2 separate regions of the Homo sapiens genome follow, and region 2 is linked to region 1. Evidence: promoter capture Hi-C in human tissues and cell types (Jung and others, 2019). All regions are on one chromosome and are shown on one strand. The core of a region is centred on a gene start or on the middle of the fragment in contact, and the rest is flanking DNA. Distances in the headings are between cores, read along the strand shown.

Region 1 (2,729 bases), core at 172-2,671:
GCTTGCCGTGAGCTACGATTGTGCCACTGCACTCCAGCCTGAGCAAGACCTTGTCTCCAAAAAAAGGTCAATTCCACTGACTTTTCTAAGGTGTACACCATCAAGGGGCAGCTCCATCTCCAGGCCATTGGCTCATGAGACATTCTGTAGTCAGAAGGCTAGGGCAGATTGCTTTGAGCAAGCCCCCATGGTGGTTCTCACTCCTACTTCTTTGGGTATATGCCCCTCTGTTTAAAAATAAAGTTAATATGCATTTAAAAAAAAAAAGGAGAAAAAGGTCAGTTCCAGAAACTGTGTGAATAAAGCATTTTACTTGCTTTTTCTATTAATCTATAACATATGTTGATTTTTTAAAAAGAATATAAGAGCTATGCAAATTGGAGCTTCAAGACAACTTCCCATCTCCCTAGGAGGAGATGGCTGCCCTAAACCCCCCTACATAGAAATCATCCCACTGCTTGGGCTTAAACTTGATGTTGGGGAAATGAAAAATCCAAGCTAAGGCCGAAGCCTGGGGCCTGGGCGACCAGCAGAATGAGGACCACTGGTCAGTTTCAGGCTGAGGTGCGTCTTCCAGGGGACAATCTCTAGCTGGCCCTTAAACATTCAGACTTCAAGCTCTATTTACAGCATAAAGGTGTTTCAAAAGACGTGATACAAATAACTGCAAATGCTCTGCGATGTGTTAAGCACTGTTTGAAATTCGTCTAATTTAAGATTTTTTTTTCTGACGTAACGGTTAGATTCACGTTTCTTTTTTTTTAAGTACAGTTCTACTGTATTGTAACTGAGTTAGCTTGCTTTAAGCCGATTTGTTAAGGAAAGGATTCACCTTGGTCAGTAACAAAAAAGGTGGGAAAAAAGCAAGGAGAAAGGAAGCAGCCTGGGGGAAAGAGACCTTAGCCAGGGGGGCGGTTTCGGGACTACGAAGGGTCGGGGCGGACGGACTCGAGGGCCGGCCACGTGGAAGGCCGCTCAGGACTTCTGTAGGAGAGGACACCGCCCCAGGCTGACTGAAAGTAAAGGGCAGCGGACCCAGCGGCGGAGCCACTGGCCTTGCCCCGACCCCGCATGGCCCGAAGGAGGACACCCACCCCCGCAACGACACAAAGACTCCAACTACAGGAGGTGGAGAAAGCGCGTGCGCCACGGAACGCGCGTGCGCGCTGCGGTCAGCGCCGCGGCCTGAGGCGTAGCGGGAGGGGGACCGCGAAAGGGCAGCGCCGAGAGGAACGAGCCGGGAGACGCCGGACGGCCGAGCGGCAGGGCGCTCGCGCGCGCCCACTAGTGGCCGGAGGAGAAGGCTCCCGCGGAGGCCGCGCTGCCCGCCCCCTCCCCTGGGGAGGCTCGCGTTCCCGCTGCTCGCGCCTGCGCCGCCCGCCGGCCTCAGGAACGCGCCCTCTTCGCCGGCGCGCGCCCTCGCAGTCACCGCCACCCACCAGCTCCGGCACCAACAGCAGCGCCGCTGCCACCGCCCACCTTCTGCCGCCGCCACCACAGCCACCTTCTCCTCCTCCGCTGTCCTCTCCCGTCCTCGCCTCTGTCGACTATCAGGTAAGCGCCGCGGCTCCGAAATCTGCCTCGCCGTCCGCCTCTGTGCACCCCTGCGCCGCCGCCCCTCGCCCTCCCTCTCCGCAGACTGGGGCTTCGTGCGCCGGGCATCGGTCGGGGCCACCGCAGGGCCCCTCCCTGCCTCCCCTGCTCGGGGGCTGGGGCCAGGGCGGCCTGGAAAGGGACCTGAGCAAGGGATGCACGCACGCGTGAGTGCGCGCGTGTGTGTGTGCTGGAGGGTCTTCACCACCAGATTCGCGCAGACCCCAGGTGGAGGCTGTGCCGGCAGGGTGGGGCGCGGCGGCGGTGACTTGGGGGAGGGGGCTGCCCTTCACTCTCGACTGCAGCCTTTTGCCGCAATGGGCGTGTGTGTGTGTGTGTGTGTGTGTGTGTGTGTGTGTGTGTGTGGAGGGGTCCGATAACGACCCCCGAAACCGAATCTGAAATCCGCTGTCCCTGCCGCTGTTCGCCATCAGCTCTAAGAAAGACGTGGATCGGGTTCTAGAAAAGATGACTCCCTGCACGCCCCTCCCTGCACCTCCCGAGCAGTGATTCCGACAGGGCCTTCACTGCCCCTGATTTTAGGCGGGGGCCGGCCCCCTCCCCTTTTCCTCCTTCAGAAACCCGTAGGGGACATTTGGGGGCTGGGAGAAATCGAGGAGATGGGGAGGGGTCCACGCGCTGTCACTTTAGTTGCCCTTCCCCCTGCGCACGCCTGGCACAGAGACGCGAGCAGCGCCGTGCCTGAGAACAGTGCGCGGATCCCACTGTGCACGCTCGCAAAGGCAGGGTTCACCTGGCCTGGCGATGTGGACGGACTCGGCGGCCGCTGGTCCCCGTTCGCGGGCACGCACAGCCGCAGCCACGCACGGATGGGCGCGGGGCTGCAGGTGCATCTCGGGGCGGATTTCTTTCTCAGCGCTCGGAGCGCAGGGCGCCCGGCGTGTGCGCTCCCTGCCGGAGGCGCGGGGCTGGCGCGCAGGGCTCGCCCCTCACTGCGGCAGTGGGTGTGGACCCTGGTGGGCGAGGAAGGGGGAGGATAGGCTGTGCCTCCTCCCACTCCCGCCCCCAGCCCCCCTTTTTTTCCCCCTCGGAACGCGAGGTGCCATCTTTTTTCGGCGTGTCACGTCTTTACGGTGCCATGCCAAACCGGGTGGCCGGGCTTCATAGGACAGGGC
Region 2 (2,817 bases), core at 312-2,811, 380 kb after region 1:
TGATAAAACGAGGGGCCACTGCTGTCCAGGAGAATTCCAGGTACAATTAGATTCTTTTGCCTTTCATGACCTTGCAGCCCTCCCTCCCCACAGAGGCTTACAGATAATCATTAGCACACATTCAAAGACACCTCTGTCTGTGGGAGAAAAACTATCTCCATTTATTTTGTTTCACATACATCCATAGTTGAATTTTAATACAAAAAGAAAAATTAGAATCTGACAAATGTTTACAAAGAAGATACCTTCAAATAGATTTTACTCATTTCAACCTGGTGTGGAGTAATTGACAAATTGTACTGTTATATTCAAGTCACCAGAGTCTGTAGTCCAGGACCACTTAGCCCAACCTTTATGCAAGCTTGATTTTAATCTACCATGAACAATAAACTCATTGTTGATTCGCAGTTGTGTGTGTGTGCACATGTGTACATAGCAGCTCCTTTCATAGAAAGAAAAGACATCTAGAGGTTGTCTTGTACTTTTACGTACAGGAATCATTGATAAGATATGGATGGATTATATGTAACCGTGGCTGGATTTTATAAGAAAAAATAATTAGTTGACAAATGAGGGCAGCAATAAAAAAGCATCTTTTTTGCAACAATAAATAAATACAGTCAAAAGTTTTCTTTGAGACTCTAAACCAGCTTCTTCACTGAAGAGCAGACGTGGCATTTCCATGGAGTTATACTTGACCCCACAGTATCATTGTTTCTTGCTTTCTTTTTCTTTTTTTTTTTTAATAAACAAAATTTTCTCGCTTCTGCCACAATAATAAAACCATTTGATCTTGACAAGATAATGGTGTCGTTGACTTTTCTTTTTTCTTTTTCTTTTCTTCCTTTTTTTGTTTTTGAAACGGAGTTTTGTTCTTGTCACCCAGGCTGGAGTGCAATGGCTCAATCTCGGCTCAATACAACCTCTGCCTCCCGGGTTCCAGCGATTCTCCTGCCTCAGCCTCCCAAGTAGCTGGGATTACAGGCATAGGCCACCATGCACAGCTAATTTTGTATTTTTGGTAGAGACGGGGTTTCTCCATATTGGTCAGGCTGGTCTCGAACTCCCGACCTCAGATGATCCGCCCGCCTTGGCCTCCCAAAGTGCTGGGATTACAGGCGTGAGCCACCGCACCTGGCAACTTTGCTTTTTTCTTGTCCATTGGACAAAATTGGCCAATAATATAATTGGACTGTTATGACCAATAAAAACAAAGTTTAGGTCAAGTCTTGTCAGGATAGCCTCACTAAAAAGATCTGGCTCCTTAATTTAAAATAGTTCAGGCAACAAGATTCTTGCTGTGTTTTATGTTAGGTTAACATGCTGAACTTTAGGAAGCTGTAGACTGCAGTTTGTTGTTGTGAGACCTACAGAGTATAGAAAAAGGGAACAATTGAGCACCTTTCATTTTTGAAAATGATGCTTTATGCGGATGCCAAAGTAAATAAATCTGGAAGAAGCAGCCATGTTCTTTCATTCACCCTTGGCAAGCGAATAGAAAAGAACGATTAAGAAATTTTTAACCTATAATAATAAAACTTTTCACTGTACACTAAGCATAATAGCTCACTGGAAAAAGCCAATATTTAAAATATGTATGTATATATATTTGTCTAATAAAGATTACAACATTTTCAGGCAACTGGACAAATAGAGACATTTACAGAAGCATTACCATTGTGGTGAAAGGTGCGTGTGTGTGTGTATGTGTGTGTTTATTTACACGGATGAGGGGAATATAAAGGGAAAAATTATGCTAAAACAAAAGAAAAAGCAATTTTAAAATCATATTTTTCTATTAAAGTCCAGAAAGTCTCCCAGTTTCACACAGTTTTATTCACAATTTTTTTTTTTTTTGAGACGAAGTCTCGCTTTTGTCCCCAGGCTGTAGTGCAAAGGCGCGATCTTGGCTCACTGCAACCTCTGCCTCCCAGATTCAAGCGATTCTCCTGCCTCAGCCTCCCGAGTAGCTGGGATTACAGGTGCCTGCCACCACACCCGGCTAATTTTTGTACTTTTTGTAGAGACGAGGTTTCACCATGTTGGCCAGGCTGGTCGCAAACTCCTGACCTCAGGTGATCCGCCCGCCTCGGCCTCCCAAAGTGCTGGGATTACAAGTGTGAGCCACCAAGGCTGGCCTCACAACTTTTGTCAGTAAACCAAATTACTGTACAGTTACCAGGACTAAGTCAAAGGACTTTATATTGCAATAGCAGATAAATTTATATTGCAATAGCAGATAAATACAGTATTCCAATAGTTTACAATTTTTAAATACATTGTTTCACGTGGCTGCTAGAATAAATTTTTTACCACTATACATCGTTAACATTAAAAAATTATATTAGCTAACCTGACTTTTTGGGGGGCAATTTTGGATTACGTAATCACAAGGTACAATAAAACAGTGACCCCAACATCCAGTTCTGATTCCAGTTAAAAATTTAGACTAAAGATATCACAATCCGTAAGAAAAGAAAGAATATGGATGGTATAAATGATGAATTATAACAAAGTGCAGTAATGAAAACAATGTGCAAACAATGCTGGAGATCATAAATTACAATGGGAAAATATGGCAAAGGAAATTCTGGAAACCCATAATAAAATCAAGTTTCAATAACTGGCTAGTTATGTTTCATTCTACCTTAAATCTGGAAAGCAATAGAAATTCCCTAAAAATGCAACAGCAAGTTGTCTTTATACAATTCTTTGCATTGTAATTTTTTTCTTTTTTTCTTTTTTTTTTTTTTTTTGATTTGTTTGTTTTGAGACAGGGTCTCACTCTGTAGCCCAGTCTGGAGTGCAGTGGCACAA

What was found. The method cuts DNA at HindIII sites, captures the fragments that hold promoters and counts their contacts. A contact is called where the count stands out against the background at its distance.
Region 2: a contact is called between a fragment that was not itself captured here and the fragment with the promoter of MAPT in region 1, in 1 of the 25 tissues and cell types used here (mesendoderm cells).

The regions. Positions count from the first base shown.
Region 1 is chr17:45,893,133-45,895,861 of GRCh38, forward strand. MAPT (microtubule associated protein tau) reads left to right here and starts at 1,422. Exons shown (of 13, transcript NM_001377265.1): 1 at 1,422-1,554. MAPT-AS1 (MAPT antisense RNA 1) reads right to left here and starts at 2,381. Exons shown (of 2, transcript NR_024559.1): 1 at 2,348-2,381. MAPT-IT1 (MAPT intronic transcript 1) reads left to right here and starts at 2,651. Exons shown (of 1, transcript NR_024560.1): 1 at 2,651-2,729. RefSeq lists enhancers at 1,365-2,250, 2,251-2,729. The HindIII fragment of the contact is 9,010 bases long and covers 1-2,729 here.
Region 2 is chr17:46,274,052-46,276,868 of GRCh38, forward strand. LOC124904014 (a long non-coding RNA gene) reads left to right here. Exons shown (of 3, transcript XR_007065823.1): 1 at 1-40. It also overlaps a transcript of LRRC37A not described here and a transcript of ARL17B not described here. Among named protein-coding and RNA genes, the nearest start is that of LRRC37A, 20 kb to the right of the region's middle. The HindIII fragment of the contact is 6,775 bases long and covers 1-2,817 here.